3 separate regions of the Homo sapiens genome follow, and all the other regions are linked to region 2. The links are contacts of gene promoters, found by promoter capture Hi-C in blood cells and fetal thymus (Javierre and others, 2016). All regions are on one chromosome and are shown on one strand. The core of a region is centred on a gene start or on the middle of the fragment in contact, and the rest is flanking DNA. Distances in the headings are between cores, read along the strand shown.

Evidence for each region. Contacts are between HindIII fragments. The CHiCAGO score rates a contact against its expected background, and 5 or more counts as called.
Region 1: a contact is called between a fragment that was not itself captured here and the fragment with the promoter of GRIK4 in region 2, in 6 of 17 cell types (megakaryocytes, endothelial precursors, M2 macrophages and 3 more). The highest score is 10.9, in megakaryocytes.
Region 3: a fragment that was not itself captured here is called in contact with the fragment with the promoter of GRIK4 in region 2 in 1 of 17 cell types (endothelial precursors); the score reaches 6.0 in endothelial precursors.

The regions. Positions count from the first base shown.
Region 1 is chr11:120,932,382-120,935,516 of GRCh38, reverse strand. All of the region lies in intron 13 of GRIK4 (glutamate ionotropic receptor kainate type subunit 4), which reads right to left. Among named protein-coding and RNA genes, the nearest start is that of TBCEL, 90 kb to the left of the region's middle. RefSeq lists an enhancer at 1,103-1,397. The HindIII fragment of the contact is 3,000 bases long and covers 1-2,827 here.
Region 2 is chr11:120,510,215-120,513,171 of GRCh38, reverse strand. GRIK4 (glutamate ionotropic receptor kainate type subunit 4) reads right to left here and starts at 1,424. Exons shown (of 21, transcript NM_014619.5): 1 at 1,285-1,424. RefSeq lists silencers at 1,354-1,553, 1,734-1,813. The HindIII fragment of the contact is 5,980 bases long and covers 1-2,957 here.
Region 3 is chr11:120,902,315-120,905,277 of GRCh38, reverse strand. The region is part of intron 12 of GRIK4 (glutamate ionotropic receptor kainate type subunit 4); the gene reads right to left. Among named protein-coding and RNA genes, the nearest start is that of TBCEL, 120 kb to the left of the region's middle. The HindIII fragment of the contact is 4,939 bases long and covers 1-2,963 here.

The sequences.
Region 1 (3,135 bases), core at 78-2,577, 420 kb before region 2:
ATGCAGTGGTGCGATCTTGGCTCACTGCAACCTCCACCTCCCACATTCGAGTGATTCTCCTGTCTCAGCCTCCCAAGTAGCTGGGAATACAGGTGTGCACCACCACACCCGGCTAATTTTGTATTTTTAGTAGAGACGGGGTTTCACCATGTTGGCCAGGCTGGTCTCGAACTCCTGACCTCAGGTGATCCACCTGCCTTGGCCTCCCAAAGTTTTAACATTTTAAACCAAAAAGCAGCCCTGACTCTTGTCACTTGTGGGCCACAACCTCATCACGACCTTAGGCAAATTATTCCACCGTCTGGAATAGTGTCCTCAACTGTAAAATGAAAGGGTTCAAGCAGAGGCTCTCTAAGCTCCTTTCCAGCTGTCAAATCCCCTGCTTTAATGTGCCTGACTAGAAGAGACAGCGCTTACATGAGTGGTCCCCACTTTGCTTAAGTGGATGATGGCGGTCAGCAGTATTGAACGCTCTGAGGAGGAAACTGATGACCAGACTCGTCAGTGAAGAGCAGCAGCTAGCAGGGACATTTGATTTTAGGGAAAGAAATTCAGGAAGGGGCCATCTGGGGAAGGCAGGTCTAAAATCGTAACCCAGGGGGGATGGAAAACCAGAAAAAGCTGGGACCATTAGAGCCACAGGGTAGGTCTCCGGAGAAAGAAAAGGACAGGTGAAGGGAAGCAGAGAGTGCTCCACGCATCCCATGTGCCCGGCTGTGGCATGGGGCGGATGTGCGCCCCCACAGGGGTATATAAATACATTCCCTCCGAGAGAAAGACCTCTCTCCTCTCCCTATTTTTGACTGAAAGTGTTCTTTGAAGAGCTTTGTGTTCTGCCTCTGAGAGATCCCCTCTTTTATCTCCTGGATGTTTGTAGAGTTTACAAGGGGAGGGCAGGCGGGAGCCAGCCTGGAGGTGACTTCCAAAACATACTCTCTTTGGCCTCCTGGAGATTAATAGGGGCCGTGCAGCTGCCACCATTTCTGTCAAAGCCTGAAGGCTTGGCGTGGCCACTGCTCTTCTCCTGGGACATGAGCCTGGCTGGGAGGAAGATGAGCCTTCACAATAAGGCTGTGGTCTGCGTCTGCCTGGGCCCCCTGCTCCCACTCCGGGCTTCCTGAGAATGGCATGAGGAGTGGTCTAACGGCAATACCAGATCTGGGAGCATCCGAAGACAGCAAAGCCTTCTCATCTCCCTCCCTTCTTTTTCAGACAGCTGCTGCCCCCTTTCGGGCAAAATTCCCTCCCTCCCACTCAGCAGTGCCCTAGCACCATGACGCTGACCTTTTTTTTTTTTTTTTTTTTTTTTTTTGAGACGGAGTCTCGCTCTGTCACCCAGCCTGGAGTGCAGTGGCGTGATCTCGGCTCACTGCAACCTCCGCCTCCCGGGTTCACGCCATTCTCCTGCCTCAGCCTCCTGAGTAGCTGGGACTACAGGCGCCCGCCACCATGCCCGACTAATTTTTTTATATTTTTAGTAGAGATGGGGTTTCACTGTGTTAGCCAGGATGGTCTCGATCTCCTGACCTCGTGATCCACCCGCCTTGGCCTCCCAAAGTGCTGGGATTACAGGTGTGAGCCACCGCGCCTGGCTATGACCTCTTGCAGCCTCAGGCCTGCCTCCTCCACCTGGCCTGGCTGCCCTCCCTTACATACAGCCATGCTAATGGGAGGATGGGACGGGTCAGGAGAACTGCCAGTGCCTCTGCTCCTTGCCGTCCAAATGGCCATGTGCAATTTACTTCCCTTCTCTGGGACTCATTTTTCTCCACTGTAAAATGGGGCAATACCAGCCTATCAATATTATGTGAGAGTCAAAAGAGATGATGGTTGTAGAAGAGCCTTATAAATCATAACACTGTAGAGCGCTGCCATATCAATAAGGGGCTATTAAGGCAGTAGAGGGGGTAACTGAACTTAGTTTTCAGTGTGGCTTAGAACTACCTGGACTCGCACTCACTTACCTGTTGTATGACCTTGGACAAGTCATTTATTCAACTTTTTCTAAGCCTCAGTTTGCTTATCTGTAACGCGGGTATAATAAGAGTACCTAGCTCCTACAATTGTTGAGAAGATGAATGAGGCCATGTCTGTAAATGCTGAGCATGGGGCCTGGTTTGAAGTAAGTAGCCAGTAAGTCTTTGCTGTTGGGATGACAATGATGCTGCTGCTGAACTTGACAATGAGGATCATCTTAGCAAGGGCTTATGGAGACCTTATGATGAGTTGTGGGCATGTTTGGAGGCAGGCAGACCTGTTCTGTGTATGTGCAGCCCTAACTGGTCACCGCGTCCCCCACTCTGGCCCCTGCGGCCTTTCCCGGGTGACCTGGAGCACATGCACAGCTGTGTTGACACAATGTGCTTCTCTGGTGTGACCGTCTGTCTATGTGGACCTATGTGGGGTCCAGGCCTCCCAGACCTCATGCTGTCCAGTCCTTTGGAAAACTCTGGGAAAAATCCAGTACCTAGCTTGGAAAGCCAGTCATTCTCCCCAGTCCCTTCCTCCAAACATGATTCTCCTTTGGGGAGAATGAATTAAATGGCCTCTCCAGCTCCCTCTGAATCCTCTTTCAGATCCTCTCTTCTATCTCTGATCAGCTTCCAGATCTTTCTTCTCTGACCTTTTTACAGTACACCTCCTCACCCCAGCTTTCTGCCCTTGAGGAGGCCAGCTGCCCCTGCCCCCTCTACATGCCAGCAGCTTTCTACAACTTTACAAGTCAGGCTTCACATCTCCTGTTTCACCTGCTGCTGGGGCTGCAGAGTGCCTCCCATTCTTCAATGTCATTTAACTCTGTAATTGTGTTACTTAACTCCGGAAAGCTTTGGGAGGCTACAGTTGGGATGAGAAAACGCTACCCAGAATAAGCACTCCTGGAAACCTTCATTCCAAGGTAATTGTCTCTGGAGATCCCCTGTATATTGAAAAGGCTTATGGAATTCCAAGCAAGGCCAGGCCTGAGGCTGTGAAAATGAGGCTGGCATTATCTGTAAACACACAGATAGGAAGCAGCTCTGTGCCTAGCAAGCCTGGCTTTCCTGGGAGGGATAATGCACATTTGGCTCTGGATGAGGATATGGGCCGAGAGTAACATGGGGCTGCTGAGCTCACTGGGGGATTCAGGGTGGGCGG
Region 2 (2,957 bases), core at 175-2,674:
TGACAGCTGCCCACTGCCTGGCAAAAGGGCCCAGCTGTGCTCAGAGCTCCCCTCCTCTTCCCAGACAACCCAGACCCTTGGGAGACATGCCCAGGAGAGCCACTGGAGGGAGGCAGGGAGGTGGCACCGCGTGGCATCACCAGACAACAGCACCAAGAGGAAGATGGCAGCATCAAGTACAGATGCCAAGAGCCACGCAGCCCAAGGTCCAGCCCGGGAGTGGCTCGGCCCGCATTGCCCCACCACTGCCAGGCAGACGGGCCAGAGGCGCCCGGGGCCCAGCCCCCTCGGCCGCCTCCTCCACCACCCCAAGGCCCTCAGCCAACTCTCCCCAGGCTCCAACTCCTCCCCTCACTTTGCTCAGCTCAAGGGAGCCAGGGAAAGAGACACAGGTGCTCTCAGTGCCTTGAACCCCCTGTCCCAGCTGTCGCCTGCACGCCCTCCACCCCAGCCAGGTCGGAGCGCACAGCTCTGCCAGTCCTCACTGAAGAGAATCTAAATCAGCTCCCCTCCCCCTCCGCCCCAGCCCCCTCCCCCATCACGCGCCCATTGCAGGTCTCTAGAGTTTCTCCCTCACTTCCCACTCGGATGAACTAGGGTGGGATGGGTGGGAGCCCCATTCTCCCCGGGAAAGAGGATCATTTCTGATAGGACGCTGGTTCCCCCAAGCAAGGCGGTGTGCAGGGTGGGGGGGTGTGGTGGTGGCCCGAGTCCAGTGCAGGGGCAGGGGGCAGTCGAGGCAGATGGCAGTGAGGAAAGGGGGAGGGGGCTTGGTGGGATGCCAGGCTGAGCCGGGATGGGGGGCTGCAGCCGGGGAACAGAGGCGCTGGGAGAAGCGGAGGGTGACGAGGTGTAGGGGAGACGCGCCAGGCTGGGAAGGGGCTGTCATCCCTGCAGGGGACAGAGGCAGGGCTGGGAGTTGCACGGGGAGGGGGAGGACCAGAGCGGGAGGACCGCGAGCCCGGGGAAGGGATGCGGAGGGAGGGAGACGGACCGGGGTGAAGACTGGAGGAACTACGGGAGCAGAGCGGTGGGGGGTTCGGCGGCGAATCTGGAGACGCAGGGACCGAAGTGCCAGGGACCGGGCTGGCGGGAGGCGGGAGCGGGGAGGAGGGCGCGGGGGCGGGGGCCGGGGCAGGGGTGCGGGGCCGCGGCCCCCGAGGGCAGGAGCGGCGGAGACGTCAGAAGTCGGGGTGCGGGAAGGGCCAGCGCGGAGGGGACTCGGGGGCGCGGGGGCAGCGCAGGGAGCGGGCCGGGGGCGCCGCGGGGGGCCGCTGCCCTTACCTGGTCGGCTCCGCACTCCGGGGGCTGAGCCGGGGGCCGGGCGCTGCCGGGCCGGCCGCGGGGCTGCTGTTGGCCGTTTTTCCTCTTCCGCAGCAGCCGTGGCGGCTCCAGCCCGATCCGCCCGCAGCTGAAGGCAGTCTGTGTCCGGCTGCGAGCGAGCCCGGCGCGGGGAGCGCGGGAGGAGCGCAGCGAGGCGCGGGGCGCCGCCCGGCGGGCAGCTGGGGAACTGCTGCGGCCCCGCGCACGGCCGGCCGGGGGGGCGCCCCTTCGGGGCCGGGCCGGAGCCCCGCGGGCAGCTGCACGCGCCCCCCAGCGCCCCTCGGAGCGTCGCCCGGGAGCCCAGGCGCGGGGGCGGCGGGGGCGGCGGGAACGGCGGGGGCTGCTGCGGGCAGGGCGGGCGCGGGTCCGCGCGGCCGGGGGCAAACTTGCGGCTGCCCGGGGGCCCGGGGCCGAGCGAGAGGCGCCCGGCTGGGGAGCGGCGCCCGGCAGAGGCTAGGGGCGCGCGGCCAAGCGGGCTCTGCGAGGTACGGACCTCAGGTGGGGAACCCGGCGCAGCCCGCACACTCCACCGCCCTGCGCAAAGGGGCAGCCCGCCCCGGCCCCGAGGAGTTATTAGCCCGGCGGCTTCAGCGAGCAAGGGGCGCCCCCTGGTGGCATTCGGGAAACAGCGCGGGGGACGAGCGTGCCCCGTTAGAAGAGACTGCGGCCTCAGTGGTGCGGAAGATGGAGAGGTGGAGGTTTCATGGGACGAGACAAGAGCACCTTGTTCAGGAGACTGAAGAGCAACAGCTTGCATGGAGTCATTCCAGAGCACTGTTGTATACATACCAACATCTTGGGAGGATCTCATGTTACGCATGAAGATCCTGAGGCTAGGAGAGGTGAAGGGACCAGGCCAAGAACACACGGGGAGCAAGTGGCAGGACCCAGGAGGCAACCCCGCTTTCTGACGCGCGGTTCATTTCAGTACACCGTGTGGTTCATCCTAATACAACAGAGTTGCCCTTAGGAGGAGGCTGGGTGAAGAGGGAGTCCTGGGGGAATAGGAGGGAGGGCAAGGGACACGTGACCCCCTCAAACCTATTAGCTCCCTCTTATCCAACCCGCAGAGTCTCTGTCTTGGGCAGACCACCAAACTGATCACACCGGCCCTCTCACCTTCAATGGCCTGTATCCCCACACCCAACCACCAGCACTCCCACAATCTCATTAAGCTCTCTGTGAAGGGTTTGTTCACAGACGTCCTTGGTCAGGTCTCACGCATGAGGCATACTATCGGGACTATAGACTGTTCTGGACGTTGCATTCCCCGGGGAGGGCTGGCTGGCTAGCCTGGGCGCGTACTGGGCCTCCTGCTTCAGGAGTCGTGCCTATCCCTCCCCCAGCTCCACACACTGGCTGGATGAATGCCATATGCGAACAGGGCTCCATTCCTCCAGCCAGACATTATTTAGCACCTACTGTTTGCCAAGACTATACCGCTTACACAAGTGTGATTCCCAATAATCAACTTTGCAAGGTAGGTGTTGAGGTGACACTAGTCCCATTTTACAGAGGATGTTAAACCTGTTAAGGTTTAAGAGCACCTGTAAGCCAGTGACACAAAACTAATTTCTAATTCCAACTCTATTCCCCCACTCTGGAACCCCCTCTCTTGTGCAAAATGGACGGAA
Region 3 (2,963 bases), core at 6-2,505, 390 kb before region 2:
TGGGCAGCTGTCATTCTCATCTTAGCCCTGGTGTCTCACCCGCGTGTGATGGGGAGGGCCAGGGGCACAGAGGGTCGGGGAGGACATGGGGCAGAAGGAGGAAACTGACGTGGGTAATGGGCTACTTTGGGGTGATGACCAGCTCCTCTCCCTGATGTGCTCCTTAAAGCTGTCCTTCAAGGTGCTTCTGTTGTCAGGAACACACAGTGGTTCCCACTGCATGGAGGGTCAGGCTCAAGCTGCTTCAACTTGTTTAAGGTCATCATCTGACCCCACTATCTATCTCTCTCTTTTTTTTCTACCCCTGCTTTATTCCAGGCAGACCAATGGCTGGGCATTATCAGAGATATAAGGATGTCTGCAATAAGCAGGCTAGGTAAGAACAGGTACATGTGCAACTGCAGTCCAAGGAGGGCATTGGGAAGAGGGCAGGTCTCTCCAGTGAGATGTCCAGAGAAGGCTCCAAGCTGAAGGTGGGATCCAAGCTGGGCTCTGGAGGAGGCAGAACACTGAGAGATGGAAGGGCTGTGAATGAAAGGCATGGGCCAGGGGAAGGCACAATCAAGGGCATGATCCTGAGTGGCTGCTCAGTGGACGATGGACCTTCCAGGGTAGCCGGAGCACAGGTTGTGAGCAGGGGCGAGATGGGAGGAGAAATGTAGATGGATGGGACTCAGATGCCAGGAAGTGGTGGCTGCACATTACACAAGGTATAGGGGGGAAGCATCAAGCGTTTTAAAGACGCAAGGCTGCGAGTAAGGAATACTAAGTAGTAGGAGAGGAAGCATCCAGGGGTGAGGACAGACCCTCTCCTGAGATGAGACCCTGAATCCTGGGCTGCAGGTTGGATTGGAGAAAGCCAGAAGGATGTAAGAGGCACAGAAAGGAACAGGTCTGATAACTGGTTGGTTGGGTGTGGGTCCTCAGAGCCTTGGAGCCCGGTGGATGACTAACAGAGGGTGGTGTCATGATGGGCTCGAATGCCTGGAGGGGAGGAGGATTTGGAACAGGTTGAATCTGAGGTGCTGGCAGGCTACGCAGGCAGAAGTGACCCACTGGGTGTTTAAAATGTGGAGCAAGGGTAAGACAGGGGCCAGAGATTGCACATGTACAGAGATCAAGGCTGAAGCTGGGGAATATGTGAGACCGTCAAGGGGAAGAGTTGAGAAAGGGCAGAAGAGGAAGAAGAAGAGGCCCTGGGGAGAACCTGGTCTTAGAGAGTGGGGAAATGAAGGGCAATCACAGAAGACAACACAGAAGCAGCCAGGAAGGCTGAAAATCAGGGGAACATGATCTTAGCGTCAAGGAGGAGGAAATTGGAAGATAGAGGATGTAGCCACTCCCACCATTCTCACAGACCTAGCAGGGCTGGGAACCAGCGTGTTGATCATGTGTCACTGCCGACCTTTTGAAGGCAGGCGTGGTGGGGGCAGCAGGACTCCGTAGGATGAGGACTGAGCGAGTGCCACAGGAGTGAGGGCTGTTCAGCATTTTGACAGGTTAGGAGCTAAGGGAGGCAAGGCGGCAGGCACAGAGAGGGCAGATCGCCTCTCCTCCAAGCTCCTTCCCCACCGCAAACAGCAGGGCTGGGGGTCCCAGGGGCCCACCCAATTCTGTGATTCTGTGACTCCCTACGTTGGAGGGCAGCTTGAAGGGCAGCAGGGTGTAGGAAAGGTGAAGGCGATGGTGTTTTAGGATGGGACAGTCCAGGGTGTATTTACAGGCAGGAAGGGAAAATCCCTGGAAAAGGGGAGAAAAGAGGAGGAAAGAACCATGCTAGCTGGTGGAGCAAGGGCCCAGGAAGTGCAGGGTGGAGGCAGGGTGGGGCGGGGTGAGGTTGAGGCCTGAGCCTGGAGGTGAGGTAGAGGGTATGGGTGGGTTCACAGAGAGAAGGGAGCTCGTGCTGGCCCCAGAGTTGTGCTGAAAGTGGGGCAGATAGGCTTGAGTCTTGGTGTGTGGGAAGATTTTCAGCAGAGCCGCTCAGGGGATGCGACAGGGACAGAGGAGAGCTGGGCTCAGGGATTACCAAGGCCCGGCTGCAGAGGGGAGGCTGGATGCAGACAGGCAGCTGGGAGCAGGGGTGGCAGGGACAATCGGGCTTGGGTACAGGTGTGCATGGAGAAACCTGCACATCACGATTCTAGGAGCCCAGAGAGGAAAGCACTGAAATCCTGATGGGCTGAGCTCGTTCTGAGAAGGACTTCTAGGCTGGGGAAGATGGAGGGCCAGACAGACACAAGGTCATGGAGGGACTGTGAGGGAGAGCAGGATGTGGGCGTGATGAAGTGGGCAGCCAGAAGGCAAAGGTCATGTGTCAGGGAGCGGGAGCTCTGAGTGGAAGGTGACGTGATTCTGATTCTGGATGAGTCCACTGTCACGTCAATGAGATAGGAACGGTCAGCCTGCCTTCCACACACGCCGTCCTCAGCACAAGGGCTTCTCCCTGCACAAACTCTCCACACACTCCCCCATCTTCCACCTCACCTAGTCATCTTTGTCCGCAGAGTCACACTGCCTCCTTCTGTGCCAACCCATGTCTCAGAACTCCCCTGCTCTCATGCCAGGGCCCACACAATCACCCTCCAATGTTTTCCGATTTGCGCCTGCTCTAGGTAGAATGGGAGTGGGTCCTGGGACAGACTCGTCACCTGCTTGGTTCCCCTACCTGGCTCAGCATTAAGCACTTGCCGATCATGTGAGTAAGAAGCAAACAAATGGCTTCCTGGACAGGGCATGGCTGGGGGTTTCCATCTCAGGACTGGTAATGTCCCATTGTATCTTTGATTGTCCCAAGGGGTGTCACAAATTCTTCTCCCCAAATACTCACTACTCTCAAGTTAATTTAAAACTTATTGACATATTCAAAGTGAACAGACACAAGGCCGGTCTTGGAGACGCGTTGGAAAGCCCAAGGATGGGGATGGTTAGGGCTCACTGGCACCTTGGAGAATGCTGGGGTGTTG